Linked DNA regions of Homo sapiens: all the other regions are linked to region 4. Evidence: promoter capture Hi-C in human tissues and cell types (Jung and others, 2019). All regions are on one chromosome and are shown on one strand. The core of a region is centred on a gene start or on the middle of the fragment in contact, and the rest is flanking DNA. Distances in the headings are between cores, read along the strand shown. Region 1 holds the start of FLT3LG (fms related receptor tyrosine kinase 3 ligand). Region 2 holds the start of FUT2 (fucosyltransferase 2 (H blood group)). Region 3 holds the start of NTN5 (netrin 5). Region 4 overlaps GYS1 (glycogen synthase 1).

Region 1 (5,245 bases), core at 2,307-4,806, 490 kb before region 4:
CAGGCTTTTATTTTATTTTTATTTTTTTGGAGATGGAGTCTTGCTCTGTCGCCCAGGCTGGAGGGCAGTGGTGTGATCTCGGCTCACTGCAACCTCTGCCTCCTGGGTTCAAGCAATTCTCCTGCCTCAGTCTCCCAAGTAGCTGGGACTACAGGTGCCCACCACCATGCCTGGCTAATTTTGTTTTTGTATTTTAGTAGAGATGGTTTTCATCACGTTGCCGAGGCTGGTCTCGAACTCCTGAGCTCAGGCAATCCACCCGCCTCAGCCTCCCAAAGTGCTGGGATTACAGTCGTGAGCCACCATACACGGCCTATTCTATGTTTTGAGACAGGGTCTTGCTCTGTCGCTCAAGCTGGAGTGCAGTGGCCCAATCATAGCTCATCGCAGCCTCGACCTCCAGGGCTCAAGTGATCCTCCCACCTCAGCCTTCTGAGTAGCTGGGACCACAGGTGGGCACCACCATGCCTGGCTAATTTATTTTTATTTTTGTGCAGAGATGAGGTTTCACTGTGTTACCCGGGCTGGTCTTGAACTCCTGGGCTCAAATAATCCTCCCACCTTGGCCTCCGAAAGTGCTGGGATTACAGGTGTGAGCCACTGCACCCAGCCCTCAGAGAGAGGTTTTTGTTTGTTTGTTTTGTTTTTGAGACAGTTTCACTCTGTCTCCCAGGCTGGAGTGCAGTGGCATGATCTCGGCTCACTGCAGCCTCTGGCTCCCGGGTTCAAGCGATTCCTGTGCCTCAGCCTCCTGAGCCACCATGCCCGGCTAATTTTTGTATTTTTAGTACAGCCGGGATTTCATCATGTTGGCCAGGCTGGTCTCAAACTCCTGACCTCAAGTGATCCGCCCACCTCAGCCTCCCAAAGTGCTAGGATTACAGGAGTGAGCCACCACGCCCGGCCTCCTCAGTTTAGAGACCCCTTCTCTCCCTGTTTTTTTTTGGGGGAAGAACCCCTCAGTGGCACCCTTCATCATGGCCTAGGAAACCGGGGCCCCAGAATGGGACCAGACTGCTCCCCATCACCGGTGCCTGGGGACGTGTTGTTCTGTAGGAACAGGGCTCTGCAGGGTGGCGCTTCTCGCTCTACCTTCGTTGGGTGGCTATGGTCCAAATCGCCAATAAGGCCTAGTGGAGCTTTACTTCTAATTCGTAGGAAGGCATCTCCCTCCCCTCACTTGTCCCCTAAGTTGAGGGCTGACCTGAAAGGCACATTTGGTGACAAAGTGTATCTCCGTGTTCACGCGCTCCAGCAAGCCTTGCATCTTGGACCCAGCGACAGTCTTGAGCCGCTCCATCCAGCGCTGTGCCAGGACCAGCCGCCAGAGGCCCCCGCAGAGCTCCTCCTAGAGGGGAGAACCCACGGGTCTGAGGGAGGAGCTGGGCACGGGGCTGCTGGGTCTGAGGGAGGAGGGGCTGGGCCGGGGCTCCTGGGTCTGAGGGAGGAGGGGCTGAGGACTCTGATTCCTGGGTTTGGGGAGGGGAGGGCCTGGTTATCCACTCGCCTCGGTGGAGCATCTTGAGTCTGTGGTCCCCACCTCCATCCCAGGTCCCTCCCAACATGACTTACGTCCTGCAGGTTGGAGGCCACGGTGACTGGGTAATCTTGAAGCAGGTAGTCAGACTGCGGGAGAAAACAGGATCAGGCCTGGCTGAAAACAGCGAGAAACAGAACTGTGGGGACCCAGAGGTGGCAGCAGAGATCCAGAGAGAGAGGGACAAGACCAAGAGAGGGGGAGCCCAGAAGAAGCCACAGAACCTTGCCCTTAAAAAGGGATGACACCCCTAAGCACAGTGGCTCACGCCTGTAATTCCAGCACTTTGGGAGGCCAAGGTGGGAGGATCGCTTGAGCCCAGGAGTTCAAGACCACCCTGGGAAACACAGGGAGAGAGACCCCATCTCTACTTAAAAAAAAAAGTGGGGGGAAGGGGGATCACATGAGGGGGTCCGGGGCAGCGCCGCTCACCAGCTCACGGATTTTGACAGCGAAGTCGGAGGAGATGGGGCTGTGTTGGAAGGAGCAGTCCTGGGTCCCACTGAGTCCCGAGCTCAGCAGCAGCAGCAGGAGGAGATAGGTCTGCAGGGGAGCGGGTGCTGGGGGAGCCCTCTGCTGTTCCACACACAGCCCCCTCCTCCGGGCTTCCCACCTGTACTGTTCTGTCTTCCCCGCTCCTCCTTCCCTGGGTGTCCTTCTGCCTCTTCCACACTTTCTGGAGACATGGCCCCATCTCTGCCTGTCTTTCCCGGTTTCTCTCTGCCTCTGGTCCAATGCTGTCCAGTTTGCATCCCCCTCTGCCCCACCCCTCTCTCTCCCCATCTCCCCCACTCTGCTGGTCTCTCTCCAACCACCTCATCTTCACGTCTGGTTTCCTCGCCCGGGTTCCTCCAGCTCTGTCCCTCCCTCTGCCTTCTACACCACTGTTGCCTGCTTCTCTCTTGATCTTGGTCCACGTCCTCTTCATTTGTTCTTGGCTCTGTCCACCTTCCCTCTCCTCTGTCCATCTCCCCCCTTTTCTGTCCATCTCCCCCTCCTCTGTCCATCTCCCCCCTCCTCTGTCTCTCTTCCTCTCCTCTGTCCGTCTCCCTCCTCCTGTCCACCTCCCCCTCCTCTTCATCTCCCTCTCCTCTGTCCATCTCCCCCTCCTGTCCATCTCCCCTCTCCTCTGTCCATACCCCCTCCTCTCCATCTTCCCTCCTGTCCATCTCCCCCACCTCTGTCCATCTCCCCCTTCTCTGTCCATCTCCCTCCTCCTGTCCACCTCCCTCCTCTTTATCTCCCTCTCCTCTGTTCATCTGCCCTCTCCTCTGTCCATCTCCCCCTCCTCTGTCCATCTCCCCGCTCCTGTCCATCTCCCACTCCTCTCTATCTCCCTCTCCTCTATCTCCCCCTCCTCTGTCCATCTCCCCATCCTCTGTCCATCTCCCCCTCCTCTGTCCGTCTCCTCTCCTATCCATCTCCCCTCACATCTGTCCATCTCCCCTCCTATTTCCTCGTCATCTGTCCATCTGTTCTCCCGTCCATCTCCCCTCATCTCTGCCCCATCCTGACATTGTGCCTCCCCTCTCCCCTGATCTTGTCCCTGGGGTTTACGCACTGTTGGGCTCCAGGCTGGCGCCAGCACTGTCATTTCGGCCGGGGGCCCCTCATGCCTCCTGTCGCCGGGTCTTGGAAGGGACAGAAGAACAAGTCTCGGACCCTCATGCCCCAGCCCCTGCCCTGCCCGCCCCTTTGCCTCCCCGCCCCTCCCGCGTCCCATTGATGTGGCTGAGTTTCCGCCCCTTCCTCCCCCAGGCTTCCTGCGTCTGCCCCAGTTACGGTGAAAACTCTTCATCTCCACTTCTAAGAACCTCGACGTCTGGTCCCCAGAACCCTCCCCAGGTTAGGGACCCGGGAACCCAGCCCCCCACCCTCTGCTCCCCCTGCCCCAGGAGTGGGGACCCTGGCTCCGCCCCTTGGGGACCTAGAGTCCAAGTCTCCTCACGCACCAGGCTTGCCCCAGTTGGGTGTGGAAGGGGCCAAGCCGGGTGACAGCCAGAGACCGAAAGTGAAAGGAAATTTTTGGGGGGAGACAGTCAAGGGGTGGAATCTGGGCCCAGGCGGAGCGCGCCCCCTGGTGGTGAGAGGCGGCCGCTCACGCCGCAGATGGCGCGTTCTCCGGACGCCCCGCAGCGGGGGCTGCAGTGGGGCTGACTCCCTGGGTGGCACGCCCAGTGCATGGTGAGCTGGGGCTGGAACCCGGATCTGTCTCTGGGAACTCGCAGTTGCTGTGTCTTACCGTCCTCCGGGCCCCAACTTTGCCCCGCCAAGGCTTGGCACACAGGACTCAGGATGCATCTTGTCACATTGGGCCTGGCAGGTGTCGCCCTAGCACTAGCTTTATCACTGTGGGAGCTTGGCCAGCCCCTTGACCTCTCTAAGCCTCGGCTTCTCCAACTCCAAACTGAGGGGTGAGGTGGTACATGAGACAAAATAGAAGCTCTCTTCCACATCTGTGGATCTCTGAATCTCTGAAGCATTTTTTTTTTTTAGATGGGGTCTCACTCTGTTGCCCAGGCTGGAGTGCAGTGGCACAGTCTCGGCTCACGGCAACCTCCGCCTCCTGGGCTTAAGCAATTCTTGTGCCTCAGGCTCCCAAGTAGCTGGAATTGCAGGTGCGTGCCACCATGCCCGGCTAATTTTTGTATTTTTAGTAGAGACGAGGTTTCACTATGTTGGCCAGGCTGATCTCGAACTCCTGACCTCAGGTGATCAGCCTGCCTCGGCCTCCCAAAATGCTGGGATTACAGGTGTGACCCATCACGCCCATCCTGAATCTCTTGCTCACCCATCTGATCCGTGGCAGACTGTCCTGAAACATCTGCTGCCCCCACCCCCCCAGCAGGAGGATTCGAGGTCCCATCCTGGGGAACTCGGACATGGCCACACTCACTTTGGCCAGTCACATGAGGGTGGAGGTGACAGGTGTCACTTCTGAATGGAAGTCTAAGGGACCGGGGAGTGGATGGTGGAGGATGCATGGAGAGAGCGCCTCTATCAGCCAAGTTTCCTGTGCCACTCGGAGGAGCACAGGGATCCTGCCAGCCCCGGATGAGCACAGGGAGTGTAAGCAACAAACTAATGTTGTGGTTGTGGCCCACGCAGATTCGGGGGTTATGTGTTACTGCAGCAAAGCCTCGCCCGTCCTGGCCTTCATCATCCATTTCCCTTCCCTGATCCCTCTGCCTGCCTCACTTCCTGTTCAGCCTGGGTTAGCTGCCTTGTCGCACCCAATGGTCAGACCTTCCATCTGGCTAGAAAGATTTAAATGAAGCAGAGAGGCAGAGATACAAGCCCCAATAGCTCATGTGGCCCATGGACAAAGGACCTGCTCTAGCTCCTTCCTGACCAAGTCCTGGGGCCCCTCAATGTGTGTCCTGCCCTATCGCCCTATTGCCTCTAGGGAATCTCTGTAGCCTTCCAGAAGACTCCTCTCTCTCTCTCTTTTTTTTTTGAGACCGAGTCTCGCTGTGTTGCCCAGGCTGGAGTGCAGTGGCACGATCTTGGCTCACTGCAAGCTCCCCCTCTGCCTCCCAGGTTCAAGCAATTCTCCTGCCTCCCAGATAGCTGGGATTTCAGGTGCCGCCACCACGCCTGGCTAATTTTTATAATTTTAGTAGAGACGGGATTTCACCATGGTGCCCAGGCTGGTCTCAAACTTCTGACAAGTGATCCACCCACCTCGGCCTCCCAAAGTGCTGGGAT
Region 2 (5,085 bases), core at 193-2,692, 290 kb after region 4:
GGATTACAGGCATGAGACACCACACCTGGTCTATCTTACTGAGATTTTTTTTTTTTTTTTTTTTTTTGAGACGGAGTTTTGCTCTTGTTCCCCAGGCTGGAGTGCAATGGCACAATCTCGGCTCACCACAACCTCCGCCTCCCGGGTTCAAACGATTCTCCTGCCTCAGCCTCCCGAGTAGCTGGGATTACAGGCATGCACCACCACGCCTGGCTAATTTTGTATTTTTAGTAGAGACGGGGTTTCTCCATGTTGGCCAGACTGGTCTCGAACTCCTGACCTCAAGTGATCCGCCTGTCTCGGCCTCCCAAAGTGCTGGGATTACAGGCGTCAGCCACCACGTCCAGCCCCGTCCACGTCTTTCTATTGCGGCCCGGCTTCCTCCTCTCCCCTCTGTCCCCTACACCCAGCGCCGGCCCTGCCCCTTCCCAGCTCGCAGCCCCTTCAGGGCTCCCTATGCCTCTTAAGACACAATCCCAGTCTCTCGCCGGCCCCGCACACCCCTCCGGCTTTGTCACCAGCTGTTCCCGTGAAATAACCCAGCTCTCCGCTCACCCGGGGCCCCGTCCTGTCCCCCAGCTCTGAAAGCCTTTCTCTACCCCAACCGCCCCGTGCCCCGGGCAGCTCAGCACATCCGGCTCAGTCGCACCCCACTGCCTCGAGCTCGCTGTCTTCCTGCACCTCCCCGGGATTCCCGGATTCCCGGCATTATCACTTCCACCCTGGGGAGGAGAAGGGAGCTTCAGACAATAACGTAGGGCCATCACTTGGAAACCCCACCTTTATTCTCCGACCCAGAACAGAAGCGGTGATTCAGAGCGGGATTAGGGAGTGCAGGAGGGACGGAGCCGCCCTCCCTGGGCGACGGCAGGGCTCGGAGGTGAGACCAGCAGTTTGGGTTCCATGAAGCCTCTGAGGAGCCCCAGGGTGGAGGCAGGAAAGTCGGGTCACCACCAGCTGTGCGCGAGCCATCTGCACCATTACTGCCAGGGTGGTTCATAGAAACTGCTGAGGGGAAGGAGACAAGGAAGGACCTGGTGGCCCGGGGTGGAGAAGGGGAGGGAGCTGGTGGTTGGAGCTCTAGAAACAGATCCACCTGGAAGGAAGTGGGGAGGGAGCTAAGGAGGGCGGCTGGCTGGGGAGGGGGGTCCTGGCTGCCGAGGGAGGGACCCTCCTCTCCTGGAGGTCCTGAGTTGGGGGTGCCTCCCAGAGGGCACCAGGGACCCACGAGGGCACACAGGTCCACGTCCCAAATCCCTGCTCTCCGCCTGGGCGTGTGTGCAGAGGTGTGCGTGTTGTAGGGTGGGAGAGGAGCCCCCTCACCTTCTCTCACCTGGTCCTGCTGAAGGAAACCGGGACAGAGTGGTTGGGCAGGCACCTCAGTGTTCCCTCTGGGTCTCTCTTCACTCAGGGCCAAAGAAACCCTTCCAGCATCGGTGACTGGCAAACCCCGCCCAGGAGCTACAGGGCTTTCCAGAGCAGGTGTGGCTGGGCTGCGGGAGGGAGGTGAGCCCGTAGCCCCTCCTCCCTCCCCATTGCCGGCCACAAAGTCCATCTTGTTATCTACCCTTAGCTCCTCCACCTGCACCAGGCACCCCAAGCCTGGCCATAAGGGTGGGGGAGAGAGGCAGGACAAGGTCGCATCCCCCATCCGGGTCCCCGAGGGTCTTCCTTGGGGAACTGTTGTGATGCCCCAACAGAAAGGGGCCCCCACTCTGCTCCGCTCCTCCAGGCAGCCAGGAAGGCCTCCAGGAAGGCAGCATGGAGGCGGGGGACAGAGTCCTGCTAGGCCAGGCTCTCGCTGACTCTGAGTCCCCTCAGAGTCTTATATTTATTTATTAATTAATTATTAGTAGTATTACTTTTTGAGAGAGTTTTGCTCTTGTTGCCCAGGCTGGAGTGCAATGGCGTGATCTCAGCTCACTGCAACCGCCGCCTCACAAGTTCAAGGGATTCTCCTGCCTCAGCTTCCCAAAGTGCTGGGATTACAGACGTGAGCCACCTCGCCCTGCCTATTTCAAAAAAATTTTTAAATACAAATGGGCCCGGTGTGGTGACTCACACCTGTAATTCTAGCACTTTGGGAGGCCGAGGCAGGCGGATCAACTGAGGTCAGGAGTCAGAGACCAGCCTGGCCAACAAGGTGAAACCCCGTCCTTATAAGAATACAGAAATTAGCCATGGCCCAGCACAGTGGCTCATGCCTGTAATCCCAGCACTTTGGGAGGCCGAGGCAGGTGGATCACCTGAGGTCAGGAGTTTGAGACCAGTCTGGCCAACATGGTGAAACCCTGTCTCTACTAAAAATGCAAAAATCAGTGGGGCGTGGTGGCATGCACCTGTAATCCCAGCTACTTGGGAGGCTGAGGCAGGAGAATCGCTTGAACTTGGGAGGCGGAGGTTGCAGTAAACTGAGATTACACCATTGCACTCCAGCCTGGGAAACAAGAGCAAAACTCTGTCTCAAAAAAAAAAAAGATGGATGAGGAATTTTACTGAGAGAAGAGGCAGGCACCACCAGAGCTCCCAGCAGTCCTAACAGGAGGAAAGAGAAACCAGCAGCCACTCCCCAGCTTCAGCTAAGCAGCAGGAGGCTACCTACCAGCTACGGAGCTCCCTTCAAACAAACAAACAAAAAAATCAGATCAAGCTTCCCACTCTAACCACCAGTTTGCAGAAAACAGGAGGACAAAGTTCCCAGTGAAACGACACCATGAGGCAGCAATCAGCCCAGTCCAGAATGTGAGCCCGTCCACAGGACAAACGACCTGTTTCCCTGTGATTCAGCGACAAGGAAAAAAGAAACAGGGTGGGGCGGGGAAGTGGGGAGGTGAGCTGTCATAAAATATGCAAAACAGGCCAGGTGTGGTGGCTCACGCCTGTAATCCCAGCACTTTGGGAGGCTGAGTCGGGCGGATCACGAGGTCAGGAGATTGAGACCATCCTGGCTAATACAGTGAAACCCCGTCTCTACTAAAAATATATATAAAAAAAAAATTAGCCGGGCGTGGTGGTGGGTGCCTGTAGTCCCAGCTACTTGGGAGGCTGAGGCAGGAGAATGGCGTGAACCCCGGGGGCGGAGCTTGCAGTGAGCCGAGGTCACACCACTGCACTCCAGCCTGGGCGACAGAGCAAGACTCCCTCTCAAAAAAAAAAAAAAAAAAAAAACGCAAAACAGATTTGGGGCTCAGAGGCTTAGACTTTCCAACTCCATGAATGTCCCACAGATGTTCCAAAGTCATGGGAATGACCTGGGCGCAGTGGCTCATGCCTGCAATCCCAGCACTTTGGGAGGCCGAGGCAGGAGGATCACCTGAGGTCAGGAGTTTGAGACCAGCCTAGCCAACATTTTTTTTTAGTGAAACTCCATCTCTACTAAAAATACAAAATTAGCTGGGCATGGTGGTGCACGCCTGTAATCCCAGCTACTCAGGAGGCTAGGGGAGGAGAATTCCTTGAACCTGGGAGGCAGAGGTTGCAGTGAGCCGAGATGGTACCACTGCACTCCAGCCTGGGTGACAGAGCAAGACTCTGTCTCAAAAATAAAACAAAGTCCTGAGAATGCAGGACAAACCTTCATTGCGTAACTTTTATTGTCGCTGACCCCAGCCGCGTAAACGCTGTGGTAGCATCCTAGGACCTCCACTGTGACAACTAAAAACAACCCCCACAGATTCCCATAACTCCCCCAGGGGGACAGCACTCCGGAATTCAGGACTGTTGCCCTAAACCCTCTGTTTTCCATTTCAGCTTTCCCTTACTGGTGCACGCCCCCATGCTTGGCCACCACGGCCAATTTCAAGCTACCAATAAGAGATCATTGAACATGGAATTGGAAAGAAACGCACAGTAATACATTGTTCTATAGTAAGTCTTCTTACTATGGTAAACACTTACCAGCCAGTTCTCTGGAGAAAAAAACACACTGTATGTTAGTATCTGCCAATCTGTGTGCCAATCAATGTATGTGCTCACTGCAACCTCCGCCTCCTGGGCTCAAATGAGTCTCCTGCCTTGGCCTCCTGAGTAGCTGGGACTACAGGTGCCCGTCACCACACTCAGTTAATTTTGTGTTTTTTTGTAGAGATGGGGTCTCACTATGTTACCCAGGCTGGCCTCGAACTCCTGAGCTCAAAGCGATCCTCCTGCCTCAGCCTCCCAAAGTGCTGGGATTACAGGTATGAACCATCTTGCCTGGCCTATTTACATTTATTATGTCTGTGTAATAGGCTTGCTATAGAACAATGTAATACTGTGCATTTCTTTCCAATTGCATGTTCAATGATCTCATATTGGTAGCTTGAAATTGGCCGTGGTGGCCAGGCATGGAGGCATGCACCTGTAATCTCAGCTACTCAGGAGGCTGAGGCAGGAGCATAGCTTGAAGCCAGAAGTTAAAGACCAGCCTGGGCAACATAGCAAGACCTTGTCTCTCTACAAAAAATAAAGAAAATTAGCCAGACATGGTGGCACATGTCTGTAGTCCCAGCTACTTGAGAGGCTGAGGCAAGAGGAGCCCAGGAGGTCCAGCGTCAGCTATGATCCTGACGCTGCACTCCAGCCTGAGTGACAGAGAAAGACCCTGCCTCTGAAAAATTAAAAAATAAATCTGGGCACAGTTGTTCACGCCTGTAATCTCAGCACTTTGGGAAGCTGAGGCAGGCAGATTGCTTGAGACCGGGAGTTCGAGACCAGCCTGGCTAACATGCTGTAACCCAGTCTCTACTAAAAATACAAAAATTACCTGGGTGTGGTGGTGCACACCTGTAGTCCCAGCTACTCGGGAAGCTGAGGCATGAGAATTGCTTGAACCTGGGAGGTGGAGGTTGCAGTGAGCTGAGATCACGCCACTGCACTCCAGCCTGGGTGACAGAACGAGACTCCATCTCAAGAAAAAAATAAGAAAAGTTTTTTTAAACACAAGTGTGTGAGGGTGGCTGTCCAGGGACACAAGGACACCGAAGAATGGTGATCAGTGCTTCCAGTATGGGGAAAAGTGGAACTCATTTATACAGGTAAAAATGGAGAGGTCAAACGCAGTGGCTAATGCCTGTAATCCCAGCACTTTGGGAGGCCAAGGCAGGT
Region 3 (4,921 bases), core at 2,400-4,899, 320 kb after region 4:
CCACTGGGCCTGACTGGGCTCCAAGGACCTCGGTCCCGGTCCTCGCCGTGGGATGGATGGTCCCTTCTCCGGGGGCTGCTCTTTCCGAGTCTCCTCCAGCTCTCCCCAGGGCTCCCAGAAGGTCCTCTGCTCCCAGCCTCTACCATGTCCTGATCGGCTTTCTCTTCTCCCCTTGTCCACTCCTCTGACCAATGTCCTATGGTTTCCCTGTGGCCACTCCAATGGCTACAGCTCAGCAGTCATCCCTTCACCCCCTCCCTCCCACCCCATTCCTGCTGAAGCCCTGGTTGGCATGGGCTCACCCCTAAAACTTCTGGCTTCTGCCTCACCCCTCCCGGCTCCCCATCTCTCCCTCCGCCTGTCCTCTTAAACATCGGGGGCCTACAGGCCTCTTCAACTGTCATCCTCCTCTATTCCAGGGCTCCTCATTTGGTTCATCTGGCCCTTCTGAGAAGCCTGAACAATCTGGGGCCCTCCAGGCCTCTTCAGCTGTCATCCTCCTCTATTCCAGGGCTCCTCATTTGGTTCATCTGACCCTTCTGAGAAGCCTGAACACTCTGGGGCCCTCCTTGAAAGTCTCGTGTGGGTCCCCAGCAAGGCCAGCTGGCCTAAGGCCTAAGAAAAATGCTCCTGGTGCTGCTTTAGTTTGCAAAAAGTGAATTAAATCTGCCCAAGCCTTTTTTCACTGAGCTGGTGAAAACTGTGTCCCAAACATGATCTTGCCATCCACTCAACTCAGGGTCCTGCCCCACGGAGAAGGAGCTGAGCTCTGAGCCCAGCTGGAGCCCCCAGGCAGGTCCCAAGGCTAGAGCTGGGGTCAGTGGGGGTGCAGGGCAGGGACAGGAGCCTGGGTCACTGGCCAAGGGAAACCAGCTCAGGACAAGGGTGCCCCCCGCGGGGTCCGCCTTCATTTTGTGTGACTCGTGCAGTTGCGCTGAGACAGGCCCCACGCTTGCTTTAATGATCTGGTGTTGCCGTCTTAAAATCCTTCATAAATTCTAAACAAGGGGTCCTGTGTCTGCATTTTCCCCCAGGCCCTGCAGATCAAGCAGTGGGTACCGCGGCTGCTCTGGCTTCTCCTGGAATCTCAGGTGCTCCCTCTTGTGGCTGTTCTCAGCCTAGACAACCAGAAAGCCGCAGAAAAGCACCAGCCAAGGCCGAGGCTGCGAGGGTGCTGGCGGGCAGGCCCATCACGGGGCTGGCTGTCCTGGTCCGCGATTCCTTGTCAGCCATTTTCCTCAGGGGGAGCGGCAAACGCCAACCTGGACTGAACTCATCTGGGGACAACCCTGGCTTGGAGGAGGGTCATGTGGCTATTTGCAGACTTTACTTCTCTTACTGTGAACACCCATGTGCTCTGCTGCCTAAAACATAACATGTTTGACAATGTGATGCGGCCCAGACCTACCATGGATGCCATGTCACGTACGTACTATGCATCCGACAACAGGGCCAGGAAGCAGAAGGTTCCGGAACACGACTTTCCCAGAGAGCTCAGATAAGAACCCGTGGGCATGTCAGCTCATTCAGTCCTCATGACCCCCTCCGCCCACCATGAGGAAGGTCCATTCTTTCTTCCTCATTTAACAGATGAGGAAATGAAGGCACAGAGAGGTTAAGAAGCTTGTTCTCGGTCACACAGCTAGGACAGAGGTGGATTTGAACCCAGGCAGTATGGCTGGGGTTACCATCCTGGCCTTTTTGAACATGTCCGGGAGGGCAGGCCCTACCCAGCCACACAATGCCCAGTAACTCCTGCGGGTGACCTGCCCTGCCTCGTGGAGACTCCGTTATATCTGGGCCACCAAGGCAGGGGTTAGAGGTCTGTGTGAGCCCAGCACTGAGGTTCTCTCTGGGTTGAACCCACCTCAGAGATGTGCCTTGGGCAGGCCTGGCCTTCTGTAGAAGCTGTGAGGGTGAAGGTCTCCAGCCCTTAAAGAACTCTCCCCAACAAAAAAAACAGTCTCCTTCCCAGCTTGGGGCACTATGTGCTCGGCTGTGGCAGCTCCGTCTGTTCTTCCCCGCCTGCCCCCGGGCACCCGCAGGGGCGCCCATCAACTCAGGCAGCTCAAGCTGCAAGGAACAAAAGCTTCCCTCCAGGAGCCGGAGCTTGAGACTTCGCCCAGGTGGGGAGGAAGACGCAGCGAGACCTAAGCCTTCTTCCTCAGTTTTGTGTGGCAGCAAAGCTGGGTTCTGTGCTGGCGGTGGGCTCAGCACAAATGCCCCTCCGCATCACCCCACTTACATCTGCAATCCCCGGGCCCCCGTGGCCGCCCCCCCCACTTGCTTTGCTCCAAGGCACTTGGCACCTTCCAACAACCTAGAGCACAGAAGGACCTGCGCTGCTGGGGTCTCCCCCTCCCTCTCTGGACACTGAGCCTGATGGGGCAGGGGTCTGTGTTCCCAGCGCGAACCCCCGGCAAAGTCCCATACAGGGGGAGCTCAGGCAGGGTCAGCGGAGGGACCTGCGCCTGAATCCCGAAGTTCCACTCTGACTCACACAGCCTGGGCCCCCAGCTCTGACATGCCCCCTCTGATGGGGGGCGTCTCAGCCCCATTCCATCCTCCTGCAGCTGATGCACCTCCCAGCTTTCGGAGTGACTCCCTTCTTTCAAATCCGATGTCCCTGTCCTGCTCCTGCCAAATCTGGCCCCCTCCAACGTGGTACCTAAGGGTCCAGAGTCGAGGGTCGCCTTTGCTGTGCCCTCGCACCCCCTGGGGGCGGGCCTGGGGCAGTGGGTCCCAAGCCTGTCAGGATTGGGCCCACGCTACACCACGATAAACGCTGGGGCCACCCAGGGCAGCAGGTGCCGCGCCCCAACTCCATGAGGCCCTTGCTTTTCTCAGCGGGAAGTGACAGAAAACATTATTTTTCTAGTCAACCCATTCGGAGATGGAATAGAACAGACAGCAACATTCGCATGAAAATGTCACGATGAAAGCACTGAGGACTCGCAGGACACCAGCGGCACTGGGGAGGTGCTTTTGAGCTTGGTCCCCCGCACCCCGGGGGTCCCCGCCTTCTCCCTCTGCCGCATGAGAAACACTGGGGCCCAGGTGTTCTCAGCTCATTTGTCGCCTTCCCCACCATCTTAGAAAGCGACTGAGGTCTTTTGAATTCCAGGGGCTGGTCTGAACCTTCCAAGAGCACAGATTTTACTGACCTTAAGGCTCGGTGAACCCACAGCTGACAAAAGGTTCCAGAGAGGAGGAGGAGGGGCTGGCTTGGGGTCACGCAGCCAGAGGCAGGGGCTGAGCAAAGTTTCCAACAGCGATTGTCTCCCAAAGGTCAGCCCCTGCCCGATCGCGATGGCGGCCACCACAAGGCGGGGCTGAGCCAGTGGGCAGGGGTGGAGTGGGATGGAGCGGGACCCCCGACTGACAGCCTCCCGTCCTACCTGCGGTGAGCCTCCTAGGCCAGGCTGCTCGGGGCTGTCCTGCTGCTGGACCGCCGGGGGCAACGGCACTCACGTCCCACACCGTTGCGGGTGGCCTGGCTGGCAGGGGTCCCTGTGGGGATAGCGTGGCTGCGGTTGGTGAGGGATTGGGGTGGGAGGGGGGTGGCGGTGTTAGATTCTGCGGGCTCTGCTCTGAGCCCCCGCCCAGCCCAGAAACCCCACTAGCCTGGGGCCTGAGAACAGCCACGCCACTCCCTCCTGAGAGCCCACCGCGCCACAGCTTGGAGGAAGAGCCTGCGGGGAACTGGCTGCAGGACGCTCTCTTCTTGAGTGCAGGTTTGGCCAATGTCGGGGCCTCAGGGCTCGGGTTGGGGGGTGCATGCCAAGAGCCAGGGAAAGGAAGCCTGGGTCCCAGATGGACCCCAGGCCGCCCAGGCAGGCCTCCTATGAGTCTGCTGGGAGCATGGCTGGACTCTTTCTTAAAGAGGGGTATGGGCTCTCTGTGGGCCACGACTGGTTTCTGGATCCCCCAGGAACACTAGGGAACTCACAGCCTGGTTCCTCAAGGTGCTAAGGGCCAGAGGGTGCCACCCCCTGAACTATCCAGCAACTATCCAGAGAGAAAGGGGACATGGGGGACTGGCCCTTAACAGGATGCTGCTGAGGGCCAGGCAGGCGGCTGCCACCTGAGTGGGTGCAAAATGGCGCCAGGCTCCTTGGGAGGGCGGAGGGCGAGGCCTGTCATCTGGGCCAGGGGAGGCAGCGTCTGCATGTGGCCAACAGCAGTGGGGACATGGGCAGTGAGGCCAGGCTGGGGCAGGTGTGGCCCACCTCAACCGCCAGGGTGCCCCAGAGATGCCCAGCCCAGGGACATTCCTGGGCGCAGATTCAGAGCCAAGGGCCTGGAAAGGCTCCGAGGCCCCCAGTCCACAGTGAGCTCCTCACCAGAGGCTGCTGGCCCTGGAAGGGGAAAGTGGGGGCATTTCAGAGTCCAGTCCTTCCCAGCTCCTGCCATTCCTAGGGTCTGGGCTTCTGCCCCCACGGGCGCCCTGGCATCTGGCACCCCACCCTGTCCCAGCTCCTGCCTTCCTGCCTCTCTCCTCCTCATTACCCACCGCCCCCAACATCTGTTCCCCCATCTGCTCTGGGGAACTCTGGATGGGTGGAGAATGTGGGGACTCTGGTCTCCAGGCCCTGAGGCCCAGAATAGAGGGCAGGGTTGAGGTGAGCAGAAAGTCCCAGAACGCTAACTTCCGGTCCCCACACCCTGAGTTCTGAAGGGAACCCAGGTGTCTGCTTCCCCTGACCCCATGGGGATCCCACTGTCCCGCTCCCAAGCCCCAGAGCCACCCAGGTTCCAGCTCCCAGCATCCCTTTCCTCAGCTCAGCTCTCTGGGCTTTGCACTCGGGTGGGAAAGGGTTAAGGGTGGGGCGCTGGGGGTGGGTGGGCGGGTGGCAGGGAGGCTGGGTTGTTTGGTGATAATCCCCTTCCGTGCCCAGGGTGTGGAGAACAAGGTTAGGGC
Region 4 (4,791 bases), core at 1,966-4,465:
CCATGAGGGGGTCTCCCTCACTGGGTTTTGGAGCCTGGCTGCGATTTAAACCCAGCTCCTGTGAGCTGGGAACTCGGGAACCTGAGTCCGGGTAGTCAGTCCTCAGCTCTGCCATCCTTAGAGCCCCAGTGCCTAATTCCTTCAGACCAAGGGGTCCCGGCACCCAGCCCCTTCTCTCTCAGACCCAGAAGTCTAGCCTGAGCCCCCTCCTCCTTCAGGGTCCTGACCCCAGCCCCCTTCTCCCTTAGACCCAGGAGGACTGCCCTCCAGCCCTCGTGTTCCCCTCATCCAAGCTTCCAACCCCTACTCCAAACTATGGGCTCCCAGTCCCCTCTTCCCCCTGAGCTAGAGGTCTGGGGCCTGAGTGCCCCCTACATCCCCGGCCCACCCCACCCCAGGCCCCAGAACTATGGACCTCGGCCGGGGCCTGCCCTCACACGCTTGGGCCCACAGTGGGTGGCATCTACACGGTGCTGCAGACGAAGGCGAAGGTGACAGGGGACGAATGGGGCGACAACTACTTCCTGGTGGGGCCGTACACGGAGCAGGGCGTGAGGACCCAGGTGGAACTGCTGGAGGCCCCCACCCCGGCCCTGAAGAGGACACTGGATTCCATGAACAGCAAGGGCTGCAAGGTGGGACGTGGCCCAGCCCAGGGCAGAAGCGGGTGGACAGCCTGCCATCGGGGTGGGAGCCACAGACGGAGAGGGTGCAGGGTGGACAGCCCCAGCCAGAGAGCGAGGCAGGCTTGGACACAGGAAGGAGGCGTGATAGGACACCCAGACAGATGCAGGGCCTGGAAGTGGGTGGGTGGATCCCAGACATGGGCGAATGGACAGACAGATGGCAAGTATGAGACAGACTGAGACGGAGATCCAAGAGGCCAAGGTCCTCAGACCCAGAGAGAAAGAGAGCAAGATCGAAAGACAGCCTGGTCAACATGGCGAAACCCCGTCTCTACCAAAAATACAAAAATTAGCTGGGTGTGGTGGCGGGTGCCTGTAATCCCAGCTACTCGGGAGGCTGAGGCAGGAGAATCGCTTGAACCCGGGAGGCGGAGGTTGCAGTGAGCTGCGATTGGGCCACTGCACTCCAGCCTGGGCGACGGAGCGAGACTCTGTCTCAGAAAAGAATGCCAGCCAGCCAGGCAGAGCTGGGGAGAAGTGGGCCTGAGGTCAGGAAGGAGCAGGATTCTGGAGCTTGAAGTTCAAGTTCACCCTCCACTTGCTGCCTGTGTGTCCTTGGCTAATGGACATGCTAATAGCGTCTACCTTCTAGCGGTGCTGGGAGGAGGAAACAGTTAATAAGGACAAAGTGGTTAGTAGAGTTCTTGGCATGAAGGTAGCACATTGTGTGGGCGGTGATTGTCATTGTTATGATCATCGTCATTATTGTTACTAACAGCCAAGCTTGGAGAGTGAGGGGGACAGGCAGACCAAGGGAGAAGGGTGGATGGAGCCACAGGCAAGAGTAATAGACTGGGGACAGAAGAGAGGCCACCAGATGTTTCAGAAAGCCAGTCCTAGAAGGAGAGAGAAGCATGGAATATCGGGGAAGAGAGGAGAGGTCAGTGGACAGACCCACAGGACAGAGTCTGAGATGGGCAGATCAGGGATTAGAGAGGAGGGGGAGTTCCAGGGCCCCAGGGTGAAGACGGAAAGAGACACGCTGTTGTCCAAGGAGAAAGCCATCAGGCGGCACGCTGTTGTCCAAGGAGAAAGCCATCAGGCGGCAGGGCTAAGGGACAGACAGGTCCAGGCTGGGGATGGAGAGGCACTGTGGTTCCTTTACTCATTCACAGCCTCTGGTTTGGGGTGGGGTCTGGAATCCATTCAGGTCCGACTGTGTCCCTAAGGGAACCCAGAACAGCCCAGTCGCTTCCTGAGGGCAGCTGCTTCCCACGTGCTGGGGGCCTAAGAATAGCCCCCCCCCCCCCCCAGCAAAAGGGCAGACAACAGCTGGGAGGGGGAGGGACCTCAGAGCGAGGCTCCAGGCAGCAAAAAGCCAGGTCGGCGAGGAGCGGGGCTGCTTCTCCACTGCTGTGGCAGCAGGCCCAGAACCAAAGCCATGGTCTCAGGGAGGAAAACAGCCAACTGGAGAAATGTGGCAGAGGCAGAAGTGAGACAGCAAGTCTTAGAAACACGGCAGTGGCTAGAAAAATGCAGCCCTGGGGCACGGACAGAGGATGGGCTATGTTAGAAATGTGTGGCGTGGCCGAGGGCGGTGGCTCATGCCTGGAATCCCAGCACTTTGGGAGGCCGAGGTGAGAGGATAGCTTGAGCCCAGGAGTTCCTGACCCACCTGGGCAACATGGCGAAACTCTGTCTCTACTAAAAATACAAAAAATTAGCCAGGCATGATGGTGCGTGCTCGTGATCCCAGTTACTCAGGAGGCTGAGGTGGGAGGATGGGATGTGGAGGCTGTAGTGAGCCATAATTTTTTTTTTTTTTTTTTCAGATAGAATCTCACTCTGTCGCTGAGTCTGGAGTGCAGTGGTACAATCTCGACTCACTGCAACCTCCGCCTCCCGCGTTCAAGCAATTCTCCTGCCTCGGCCTCCCAAGTAGCTGGGACCTCAGGCACATGCTGCCACGCCCGGCTAATTTTTTGTATTTTAGTAGAGACAGGGTTTCACCATGTTGCCCAGGCTGGTCTCAAACTCCTGAGCTCAGGCAATCCGCCCGCCTCGGCCCCCCAAAGAGCTAGGATTACAGGCGTGAGCCACCGCGCCCAGCCCAGTGAGCCATGATTGCACCACTGCACTCCAGCCTGGGTGACCGGAGTGAGACCCTGTCAAAAACAAAAACAAACAAAAAAAAATGGAAGAAAGAAAGAAAAAGGAGAGAGGGAGGGAAGGAGGGAGAGAGGGAAGGAAGGAAGGAAGGAAGCAAGGAAGGAAGGAAGGAGGCTGTGGACTACAAAATGGGCCTATGGATAGAGGAAAGAGGTCGCAGGTGACAGATATGTGATGAAAGGAACAGAAACAAGGCATCATGGGGAAGAAAAGTGGCAGCATGAACAGTAAGAGAATCATTACAGGCTGGGTGCAGTAGCTCACGCCTGTAATCCCAGCACTTTGGTAGGCTGAGGCCAGGAGTTTGAGACCAGCCTGGGCAACATGGTGAAACCCTGTCCTTACAAAAAAGTTAAAAATTAGCCGGGATGTGATACCTTGTGCCTGTGGTCCCAGCTACGTGGGAAGCTGCGGTGGAAGGATTGCTTGAGCCTGGGAGATCGAAGCTTCAGTGAACCGTAATTGCACCACTCCCTTCCAGGCTGGAGGACAGAGCAAGACCCCGTCTCTGAAAATAAAAAAGGGCCTGCTTTAGGTGGCTCACACTTCTAATCTCAACACTTTGGGAGGCTAAGCAAGAAAACTGCTTGAACGCAGGAGTTCACGATCAGCCTGGGCAACATAGTGAGACCCCATCTCCACAAAAAATTAAAAAATCAGCCTGGCATGGTGGCCCACGCCTGTAGGAGGTGAGGTGGGAGGATTGACTGAGCCAGGGAGGTTGAGGCTATAGTGAACCATGTTCACACCACTGCACTCCAGCCTGGGCAACAGAGCGAGACCCTGTCTGAAAACAAAAAAGAAGCATCCCGTGGAAGGAATTAGCATCAGAAAGAAAAGACAGTGGGAGATGCAGATGGTTGGTAAGAGAAATGTGGCAGCAAGTACAGAAACAAGGCAGCAGGTAGGGGAAATGATTTGCAGAGTGGCCAGACAGGGCAGTGGGGGCATAGACACAGGACATGTGACATATGTGGTTATAAGCAGAGAAAGGAGGCAGCGAGTGGGAGAAGGGTAGCAGTTACAGGAATTAAACAGGAGGCTGGGTGCGGTGGCTCACGCCTGTAATCCCAGCACTTTGGGACGCCGAGGCGGGCGGATCACAAGGTCGGGAAATGGAGATCATCCTGGCTAACACAGTGAAACCTCGTCTCTACTGAAAATACAAAAAAAAGTAGCCGGGCGTGGTGGCGGGCCGCTGTAGTCCCAGCTACTCGGGAGGCTGAGGCAGGAGAATGGTGTGAACCCAGGAGGCAGAGGTTGCAGTGAGCCGAGATCATGCCACGGCACTCCAGCCTGGGCAACAGAGCCAGACTCCGTCTCAAGAAAAAAAAAAAATTAGCCAGGTGTGGGAGCGGGTGCCTGTAATCCCAGCTACTTGGGAGGCTGAGGCAGGAGAATTGCTTGAACCCGGGAGACAGAGGTTGCAGTGAGCTGAGATCGCACCACTGCACTCCAGCCTGGGCCACAGAGTGAGACTCCATCTCAAAAAAAAGAAAGAAAGAAAGTAAGCAGGGGGCACGGAAAATATTGCAACAGAGATGGAAAAAATGTGTAGCAGGAATAAATCATGCAAATAGAGAAGTAAGGCTAAGGCAGCAGGTGAGAAATTAGCAGCAGATATGGAAACAGAAGATAAGAGAGCTGAGGCTTAAGTCTATAGACATCTGCCTGCAAATGGGAGAACCACGGATGAGTGAAGATATGAGGCTGAAGCCCAGAGCCTCCCTATGGTGCCTCCCCAACCCCATCCCAGGTGTATTTCGGGCGCTGGCTGATCGAGGGAGGCCCTCTGGTGGTGCTCCTGGACGTGGGTGCCTCAGCTTGGGCCCTGGAGCGCTGGAAGGGAGAGCTCTGGGATACCTGCAACATCGGAGTGCCGTGGTACGACCGCGAGGCCAACGACGCTGTCCTCTTTGGCTTTCTGACCACCTGGTTCCTGGGTGAGGTAGGCCCCGTCTGACACATTCCACCCATACCTGAAACTACAATGACC

What was found. Contacts are between HindIII fragments. The study calls those that stand out against the background at their distance.
Region 1: a contact is called between the fragment with the promoter of FLT3LG here and a fragment that was not itself captured in region 4, in 1 of the 25 tissues and cell types used here (dorsolateral prefrontal cortex).
Region 2: a contact is called between the fragment with the promoter of FUT2 here and a fragment that was not itself captured in region 4, in 6 of the 25 tissues and cell types used here (bladder, dorsolateral prefrontal cortex, lymphoblastoid cells and 3 more).
Region 3: the fragment with the promoter of NTN5 here is called in contact with a fragment that was not itself captured in region 4 in 2 of the 25 tissues and cell types used here (dorsolateral prefrontal cortex and stomach).

What each region holds. Positions count from the first base shown.
Region 1 is chr19:49,472,526-49,477,770 of GRCh38, reverse strand. FLT3LG (fms related receptor tyrosine kinase 3 ligand) reads right to left here and starts at 3,556. Exons shown (of 9, transcript NM_001459.4): 1 at 3,490-3,556; 2 at 3,099-3,168; 3 at 1,970-2,080; 4 at 1,573-1,626; 5 at 1,205-1,348. The coding sequence starts at 3,131. RefSeq lists an enhancer at 1,600-1,779 and a silencer at 3,098-3,177. The HindIII fragment of the contact is 13,748 bases long and covers 1-5,245 here.
Region 2 is chr19:48,692,328-48,697,412 of GRCh38, reverse strand. It overlaps FUT2 (fucosyltransferase 2 (H blood group)), which reads right to left and starts at 1,442. Exons shown (of 2, transcript NM_000511.6): 1 at 1,324-1,442. RefSeq lists enhancers at 480-1,043, 1,608-2,171. The HindIII fragment of the contact is 31,324 bases long and covers 1-5,085 here.
Region 3 is chr19:48,671,745-48,676,665 of GRCh38, reverse strand. It overlaps NTN5 (netrin 5), which reads left to right and starts at 3,649. Exons shown (of 7, transcript NM_145807.4): 1 at 3,649-3,734. It overlaps LOC105372431 (a long non-coding RNA gene), which reads left to right. Exons shown (of 3, transcript XR_936016.3): 2 at 1,035-1,425; 3 at 2,879-3,520. It also overlaps the pseudogene SEC1P. RefSeq lists a silencer at 1,021-1,170 and enhancers at 796-1,443, 1,444-2,092. The HindIII fragment of the contact is 16,713 bases long and covers 1,857-4,921 here.
Region 4 is chr19:48,987,146-48,991,936 of GRCh38, reverse strand. It overlaps GYS1 (glycogen synthase 1), which reads left to right. Exons shown (of 16, transcript NM_002103.5): 2 at 454-635; 3 at 4,552-4,743. Among named protein-coding and RNA genes, the nearest start is that of GYS1, 3.8 kb to the left of the region's middle. RefSeq lists an enhancer at 1,781-2,172 and a silencer at 3,303-3,485. The HindIII fragment of the contact is 7,422 bases long and covers 1-4,791 here.